Linked DNA regions of Homo sapiens: regions 2 and 3 are each linked to region 1. The links are contacts of gene promoters, found by promoter capture Hi-C in blood cells and fetal thymus (Javierre and others, 2016). All regions are on one chromosome and are shown on one strand. The core of a region is centred on a gene start or on the middle of the fragment in contact, and the rest is flanking DNA. Distances in the headings are between cores, read along the strand shown.

Region 1 (2,716 bases), core at 203-2,702:
TTCCAAGGCCTGACAAGTGCCGCCCCCACAGGTTGGACAGAGACTTGAACCGGCTCCCCCAGGACCTGTACCACGCCCGTTGCCTGTGCCCGCACTGCGTCAGCCTACAGACAGGCTCCCACATGGACCCCCGGGGCAACTCGGAGCTGCTCTACCACAACCAGACTGTCTTCTACCGGCGGCCATGCCATGGCGAGAAGGGCACCCACAAGGGCTACTGCCTGGAGCGCAGGCTGTACCGTGTTTCCTTAGCTTGTGTGTGTGTGCGGCCCCGTGTGATGGGCTAGCCGGACCTGCTGGAGGCTGGTCCCTTTTTGGGAAACCTGGAGCCAGGTGTACAACCACTTGCCATGAAGGGCCAGGATGCCCAGATGCTTGGCCCCTGTGAAGTGCTGTCTGGAGCAGCAGGATCCCGGGACAGGATGGGGGGCTTTGGGGAAAGCCTGCACTTCTGCACATTTTGAAAAGAGCAGCTGCTGCTTAGGGCCGCCGGAAGCTGGTGTCCTGTCATTTTCTCTCAGGAAAGGTTTTCAAAGTTCTGCCCATTTCTGGAGGCCACCACTCCTGTCTCTTCCTCTTTTCCCATCCCCTGCTACCCTGGCCCAGCACAGGCACTTTCTAGATATTTCCCCCTTGCTGGAGAAGAAAGAGCCCCTGGTTTTATTTGTTTGTTTACTCATCACTCAGTGAGCATCTACTTTGGGTGCATTCTAGTGTAGTTACTAGTCTTTTGACATGGATGATTCTGAGGAGGAAGCTGTTATTGAATGTATAGAGATTTATCCAAATAAATATCTTTATTTAAAAATGGCCTAATCTGTATTTGGCATCCGTGGTGCCTGAACATCTCGCGGTCTCCCAGCCTGTCCCTTCTCCTTTCCACCATTGGCCCTCACCTCTGTCCACCCTGCCAGCTCTCTCCGCCCTCCAGAGTTTCCGCTGCACCCTCCCGTCCTCTCCCATCTCTGTCTCCCTGGCCCATCCCAAACACCAGGGTGGGGGCTAGGCCGCGCTCCCGGCATGCTGGAGAGACAGAGGCCCATTGAGGCATTGCAGCAGGCACAGAGCGCCCCCTTGTCCCCCAACAATCCGCCTTTGTCCTCCAGTCCTGGCTGCTGCAGCTTGGTCCTGGGGGTGCTGCCTGGGCTGGGCTCCAGCTCACACCCTCCCTAAAAGGAAATGGGAGAAAGGACCGGCCAAACAAGAGGGTTAAGGTTAGAGAAGGGGGACACAAATGTCTTCAGGCTTAGGTCCCTGGGGGCTCCCAGTCCTGCCCCTGTTCCTCTACTCACATCCCAGCTCCTCCCAGTTTCTTTTCGGACCTCCTCCTCTCCCCTTCCTTCTCTATTCCAGGCTGGGTTGGGCTCTAAGCAAGGGGAGGGATTAGAGCCTCCTTCCTCTCTGCCCCTCCCCATGGGTCTCTAGGGGGCTGGTGCAGGCAGCAGCAGAGGCACTCTGGGCAGCTGGGTGAGGGCCCATCTGGGCAAGGCCCCCAGCGCCTGCCTTCTCTCCCGGGGCCCTGTGGGCAAGCCTCCTGCTTCACTTTCAGGTTTCTCGAAGTGCCTTCTTGCTCCTGTCTGTTTCCCCATCCTGCCAGATTTCTGTTTCTCTTGCTGGGCTTTTGGCAGTAGGGGGCTGTGTTGGTGGGCCCTACGAAGATGCTCAGTGCTCGAGATCGCCGGGACCGGCACCCTGAGGAGGGGGTAGTTGCAGAGCTCCAGGGCTTCGCGGTGGACAAGGCCTTCCTCACCTCCCACAAGGGCATCCTGCTGGAAACCGAGCTGGTAACAGCTGCCTCCCAACCTGGTGCCTCCATCTCCCTGACCCCCGGCTCCTGGCCAGCCTTATGCCAGCCCCCAGCTCACCCTTCAGTAGCCTCCTTCCCCAAGCCCTCTGGACACCTCTCCTGCCCGCAGCTGCCCCTTCTTCGTCTCCTACTCTGCCTTCTTGCTGCCTCTCCACCCGGAGACATTTACAGCAGGTTTCAGTTGCAGCAGGAAGGACTGCAGTTAGACAGGGTGACTTTTTGGGACATTGAGGAAGCTTGAGACATAGGGATGGGACAGGGGCAATGACAGCCTCTAACATGGCCACTTCTCAGCACGTCCAAGAAGTCTAACTATCAAAAAGGGCAGACTTCCTGCAACTGCACTTTATCTGTGGTCTGCTGCCCAGAAACATCTCTTCTCAGGAAAGGATCTTCCCCTGGTTACTTAGCAAGACCACAGTGTAGAGTTAAGGCCTCTGCACGTATGCCACCCTAGGTCATCAGAGCTAAAGGGGCTCCCAGAAACCACTGGGCAGCATCTGCCTTCTCTCTTGGCATGGAATCAAAGGCTCTGGTCCTTGTCAGGGGGCTTTCAGGCATCTGGGGGTGGGGAAAGCATTATGAGGCAGGGGGCTCCTCTTGGTCCCTGTGGAGTCGGGTCTCTGTGGGCACAACTCCAGGGGCTGGCATTCACACTGTACCTATGAATTACTGTGGGATAGTGCTCCTGGGAGCCATATGGCTTGGCCAGACTGCTGGGGTTGCTGGGTGAGCAGAGTGGGAGGCCGGAGACTGCCCTTGACCGGCAAATGCCCTGCAACGGTGGCTCCTGACACCAGGGGATAGGGAGATGTGCCAGAGTCCTTCCTCCCCTCCAAGGACAGGTAGTAGGTGCCAGCCTAGGGGAGCTTCCAAGGAGGGGAAGGCAAAGCCCTGGCCCCTGCCTGT
Region 2 (2,878 bases), core at 337-2,836, 260 kb before region 1:
AAGCCTGCCCCTTCCCAGGCCCTGGGACCTTTCCATTGCTCTCTGAAGTCAGAATTGATGGCCATTTTGATAAAGTTAAGTTGTAGCCATTTTCCTCTGAAAACCCACACCCTCTCCCCTTGGGGAGAATTTCTCATATGCCACTGAGGTTTTCTGAGGCCAGGCCAGGCCTGCTTATGGAAGCAGCTGACAGAGGTCAGCCAGGGGTTCTGTCCAGCTTGGGCCACTCCCATTTTGGAGCAGCTCATGCTGAGTCGGGAGGAGGGGTCTGTCTGCGGGGGGTGGGGGGTGCTGGTGAGGGTGATGGGAAGTGACTGGCCTGTCCGAGAGGAGACGCACAGGCTCTCAGCCAGCCCTGCCTATTGTTGCCTCAGCGTCTCCTGAACAGCCCCCTTCATCCCATAGTCCCCTCACTGGCTTGGAGCACGGCAGGGGGTGGAGGTGAAGAGGCCCCTTTCCACCCACAACCCCAACCGGGATCTTGCAACACTGGGATGGGGGCCCTGGGGGCCCAGGCATGTGGCAATCTGTGTAGAGGGGTGGGGAGGTGTGCACCGAGCAGGGGGGTTGGGGGCAGCTTTCACAAGCCACTGCCTCCGCTGACTGACCTTGGCAGACTCACCTTGGGCAGCTTCCTCCCTCTGCAGTGTCTCCCCACAGTCTGTCTTCTCCTCTGCAGCTTCCCTGTGGCCTAAGATCCTGTCTCTCAGCTCAGGAGTCTCATTCTGCTCCCCAGTTCTGCTCCAGAAAGAAAAGTGGGCCTGAGCTGTGGGCGCTGAAGCAATAGGACTGCATGCGTGTGCTGTTTGGACCTTGATTTGCTGGTTTTCAAACGTTATCGAGTCCCCGGTCCTGGTGCCTTTCCCCAGGCAGGGTTTGGCTAACTGCCCTTCCCTGGGCTCCTTTCTGTCATCTCCTTCCCCAGTGGGGACAACCTTACTGTGGTAAAGGTGCCAGGAGGACCAAGGGGCAGGGAAGCTGAATCCAGGGGCAGAGAGAACCCTGCTCTCCACCTGCCCCGGCTTCTTAGGCACCATCCTCCTTGACAGAGGGAATGAAAATAGTCATTTGCAACCCCTGCAGCCCCATTCTGGAGGGAAGGTGCATCTTTTTCTTACTTATCCTCTCCTTCCTTCTTTCATTCAGCATCTACTCCTGGCTTCCTTTCTCTCGGTCACCTTAGGGCTTTTGCATTTACCCTTCCCTCTGTTCACCCTTACACTCAAAGACATACCTGCCTCCTTCTCAAAATTTTTGAAGTGTCAACTAAAATGTCACTTCCTCAGAGATACCTTTCTCGGCCACCCCAGCTAAAATAGCCTCCCTACCTGTTGGTTTATGTGGTTTCCCCAATGGGCTATTCAAATGGAGTAAGCAGGAGAAGTTAATTAAGGTGCTTTATGAAGATGTGAACCAACAGTATCTGGGGAAAGTTCCTGGAGTGGTGAAGTCCCCTGGGCTAGCCCAGCACGGGGGGCGCCTGAGGGCCAGGAATCCTTTGGGAGGGACTGTGGAGAGCGCCGGTCAGCAGGGGGCTCCCACCACTCTCCTCCTGCCAGTCTCACCCCCACCCCATGAGAGGCTGGTTGATGTAGGGAGGCATCCACCTGGGGACTGTGTAGGGTGATGAAGGGTGGAGAGGGTTCTGGAGGGGCAAAGGAAGACATTCAGCACACTTGTTTATTGACTTTTTCTTCCTACTCCTTCTGCTGAGAACTTGTCTCATTCCTAGAAAAGATACTCAACAAATACTTGTTGAATAAGTTACGTTGGCCAAAACCAATTGAGGTCAGATTGAAAGCCTCTTTCAGGAAGTGTGCCCTCTGGCTCTGACTCACACCCCTGGAATATGATCTGATGCAGAGGATTGGGATGTGTTCAGCTGCTGCACGTCACGCTGGGATCACAGTGGGGAGACGGGGATGTGACTCCCCCAGACTGGGTGCCAGTCAGGAAGGCTCCACTAGGCACCGGCCCTGAGGACCTGACTGGGTGAGCGGGGGCCTGAGAGGAGAAGCAATTCAGAGCTGTGGGAACAAAGCCTGGGCTTCATGCTGAAGCAACCCAGGTCCCATCACCCAGAACCTTGAAAGTAAGTCAAGGGACAGTGGTCTTGAGCTGAGAGGAGGAAATCCGGAGGTTGAGTCATTTACCATGTTCTGTACAAACCCCCCTTATGCAACCTATCCCCCTGGGCTGAAAGGAAGGTGTGAGGATTCTCCCAGGTGCCCACAGAGACTGGTACCTCCCCTCCTTCTGAACTCAGGAAGCTCCAGTCGGTCCCTCCACTGAAGGTTCAGATCTCTCCCTCCAAACCAGACCTGGGGCACGGGCCTCCAGGACACAGAGGTGCCCGAGAGACACAGAGGCAAAGGCAGGAAAAGGACTGAGTCCTGGGCAAGGTAGACATGCCGCACACGGATGCCCGAGGTGTGGGAGGGCTCTACCGCTGGAGATTTGAAGAAGGGAGAGAGATCTGGGATGATCCAGACACCAGTCTCTCACCTTCTCAGAAAATTATTCCTTGATGTCTGACTCAGCCTTTCACAGCATTGGCTTAGGAGAGACTTTAAGAAGCCCGTAATCTGTCCCTGGGTCCCTGACACTGTTGGGCACTGTTCTTTATTGAATGTGATTCATGTGACACTCGTACTGAGGATCTGTGAGAAGAGTGTAGCGTGGAGTAGAGAGACAGGTACCACGTACTGAGGCAGCAAAGGGACTCAGTGAGTGTCAGGAGAAGCCTCTTACCCCTCTGGCCCTCAACTGCTTTATCTGTAAAATGTGGCTCACCCTACCTTGCTGGTCTGAGGGCAGAGCCCACCAGATGATCTCTTGAGGTCTCTCCCAGCACATCTTGAGATCTGCGATTTTACAG
Region 3 (2,893 bases), core at 288-2,787, 300 kb before region 1:
TATGTTTTAAAAGGAAACTAGGACTGCTTAGTCAAAGAACCCTAGGGAGCGAAGAACTATCGCACACTCATAGTTCCCTGTTATACCCCGGTCGAGATATATCACTTACACAGTGTGATGAATTCTTTCTGATTCTGGCAGATGAGAGGTCTGAGTCTCTGAGGTTTGGGGCTGTGTGGCAGCTGGTGGCTCTGCCTCTTCAGCTTCACACTTCTTTGGGCTCCCCTGTCAGGAGATAGCAAAAACGAACAGAGCAAAACATTTAGATCTGCTTGGTTCCTTTTCTTCTACCTGGAGCCTGAAAAAGGCAGGGCAGGACATACACAGTACCAGCTCCACACACGGCCCTCTGTATCTGTTATTTCATTTTAGAATAAGGAAAGGAACATGGCTTAAAAATAGGTACTTCAAGAATATTTATGCCAGTAATCATTTTATCAGAATTTTTAATTTTTTTCCTTTTCCTCAGTGATCCTTGTTCTGACAGAATTCTTTTTTGAGAGAACTGAGAAAAGGCTGACTTCCTTTTGGCAGATAAAAGGAGGAGTTATGAGGAAGAATTGACCCTGGGGGCCCTGGAGATAACCCTGCTGCTCAGCCTCATGTAGAACTTCTACGAACCAGGGAGCTGGAAATGAGTTAAGCAGGATTAACAGGTATCCACCACATTTCTACTGAACCTTGTCCAGACTTAACTTTTTAGTTTTATAGCAAAGACAAGAGGGAAGATCTTGCTTAATCCTCCATCTCTGTGTAGGGAGGGGTCACAATAGCCTACCCGCTCAGGCTGTAACCTCTGGGTCACATGCTTTTCAGCTGATTCAGGCTGACTCAGACGCCTTGCTTGGACAGAGGATGAGGAGGTGGAAGTCCTCTCCTTTGGCTCACAGACCTGCAGTTGTGGCACTGGTGGAGTTGCAACCTCCTGACCAGAAGAGGGATCTTTGGTTTCAGTATAGCTGGTGCTGCTGTCCCTGGAGACTCCAGGGCTCAGAGACTAAAACAAAATGAAACACATAACAAGGAAAATTATTGTATATGGTATATATTCAGTAGATTGCTGAGTTTTCCAGTTTCCATGGACCAAATTTTATACTCTGGACCTTTTTGTCTGTGTTTACTCCCATTTTGTCTGTGTTTATTCCCATTTAGTGGTCTCCTTGACCACTTATTTAACAAATTATTAAGTTTTAACTAGATGCTAGATCCTGGGACACACACGTAAAAGGGCATGCCCACATCCTCAAGAAGTTTCCATCTAGTGGAGGAGATGAGTACATAAATTCAACATTCTATCAAGGGACTCAAAATGAAAAAGAACCCCATTTCGGGAATCAGTTAATTGAAAATACGATTCTGAAATGAGGAGAAAGTAATCAGTGAAGGAGAGTAAAGGAGGCTTTTCCTATTCCTTTCAGAAATCATGACAGGCTCTCCAGGGGCTGAAATGAAAACCACTGGAATATGACAGAACATTAATACACCCGGGATTCTCTCATACTCACTTTTCTGCTGTTGCTTGATGCTGAACGAGAACGTGAACGTGACCTTGATCTGGACTCTGATGTTGATCTGGAGCCCATCTTGGGTCTACCACGAGGGTTGGCATGAGTACGTGCCTGGGCTACATCTCTCTGCTTGGATCTGAGCGGTGAATGAGACCGAGAACCTGAACTGTCAGGAGAGCGAGATCTTGATCTAGAACTGGAGGAGGAAGATGAGGAGGACCGGCTAGAGGATGAATCAGCTGACTGTTTCAATCTGTGGCTTGGGAGAAGGGTATGAGAAGCTCTTCTGCCTTCCTTCTGTTCCAAAGATGGCTGTTTCAGACATTCTTCAGTGATTCCTTTGGCCAGTGCTAATTCCTCAATTTTTAGAGGGAGGGGCTGAGCAGATCTGTCTGACTCAGGTTCAAGATCCTTCTGGGCTGAGTAGTCAGCCAGTGTGCTTTTCTGAACCAGAGGCAGGACACTCTCCTCTGGCACTTTCTCTGCTGGAGATTCTGCTTTGGTGTCTGAAGGACTTGACAAAGGAGACAGGCCTCCTACCAACTGGACAGTATGCTGAGATACTAATAGCTCCCTGGTGTCAGCATCTGTATTAGGAGGAGATAACTGAATGAGGACAGCGGGGGCTGGGCCTTCCATGGGCTCTATTTCTTCTTCGCTATGGAGCTGTGGATGAGGTGGTGGAGAAGATGCTTCCTTTGTTAGTAAAGGTGGAGGAGTCTCCTCCTCGCTGGCAGTTTGCTCTGGCAGCGCTACAAGTGAGGCCTTCTTTCGATCTTCAGTCAGTCGAGGAGGGGAAGGAGACTTCGATTTTTCCTTTAAGCCTTGTGAAGATTTTATTTCTCTTTCTTCCTCCTCAAGGGGAGATGTTGTTTTCATTTCCTTCTCCTGCTGCTGTCTGGCCAGATGACTTTTTCTAGCCTCTTCCTGGGATCTTGTAAATCTCCCTCCTCTCTCTAACACCTCCTGTTCCTGGGATCTTGTTTTGGGTCTCTCATCCATCATCTCCTCTGGTTTTACTCTAGGTATCTCTTCCCCTTCTTCCTTAAACTCTTTCAGGATTGGTGCCTCCCTAGATTTTTGTCCCTCATCATCACCTTCCTCTTCTTCATCATCTTCTTCCTCCTCCTCCTCCTCCTCTTCTTCCTCCTCTGTTTTCAAATTTCGATCTGCTCTGACCCTTAGGTTTCTGGAAGGTGTTTCTTGATCCTCTTCCTCCTCAGCAGGTTGGCTGCCCTCAGACAGTTTAGCTGCTCTTGCCTGAAAGAACAGATACACAATGGCTCCAAATGTATTTGCTCACAGTCAACAGAGGAGAGAAAGTATCTAATGAAGACACCCCTAGGAAGGAGAAATTCAATGATATATACTTTCAGCAACAGAAA

What was found. Contacts are between HindIII fragments. The CHiCAGO score rates a contact against its expected background, and 5 or more counts as called.
Region 2: a contact is called between a fragment that was not itself captured here and the fragment with the promoter of CMTM5 in region 1, in 4 of 17 cell types (erythroblasts, activated CD4 T cells, total CD8 T cells and 1 more). The highest score is 6.7, in erythroblasts.
Region 3: a contact is called between a fragment that was not itself captured here and the fragment with the promoter of CMTM5 in region 1, in 1 of 17 cell types (total B cells). The highest score is 5.5, in total B cells.

The regions. Positions count from the first base shown.
Region 1 is chr14:23,375,594-23,378,309 of GRCh38, forward strand. CMTM5 (CKLF like MARVEL transmembrane domain containing 5) reads left to right here and starts at 1,453. Exons shown (of 6, transcript NM_001288746.2): 1 at 1,453-1,784. The coding sequence starts at 1,659. It overlaps IL25 (interleukin 25), which reads left to right. Exons shown (of 3, transcript NM_172314.2): 3 at 32-810. The coding sequence ends at 287. The HindIII fragment of the contact is 2,824 bases long and covers 1-2,041 here.
Region 2 is chr14:23,113,327-23,116,204 of GRCh38, forward strand. No RefSeq gene overlaps it. Among named protein-coding and RNA genes, the nearest start is that of CEBPE, 4.5 kb to the right of the region's middle. RefSeq lists enhancers at 556-1,274, 1,440-2,639. The HindIII fragment of the contact is 3,584 bases long and covers 1-2,878 here.
Region 3 is chr14:23,078,042-23,080,934 of GRCh38, forward strand. It overlaps ACIN1 (apoptotic chromatin condensation inducer 1), which reads right to left. Exons shown (of 19, transcript NM_001386863.1): 6 at 1,506-2,768; 7 at 779-997; 8 at 110-225. It overlaps LOC124903288 (a long non-coding RNA gene), which reads left to right and starts at 225. Exons shown (of 2, transcript XR_007064077.1): 1 at 225-656; 2 at 1,419-2,893. RefSeq lists an enhancer at 351-1,550. The HindIII fragment of the contact is 3,399 bases long and covers 1-2,893 here.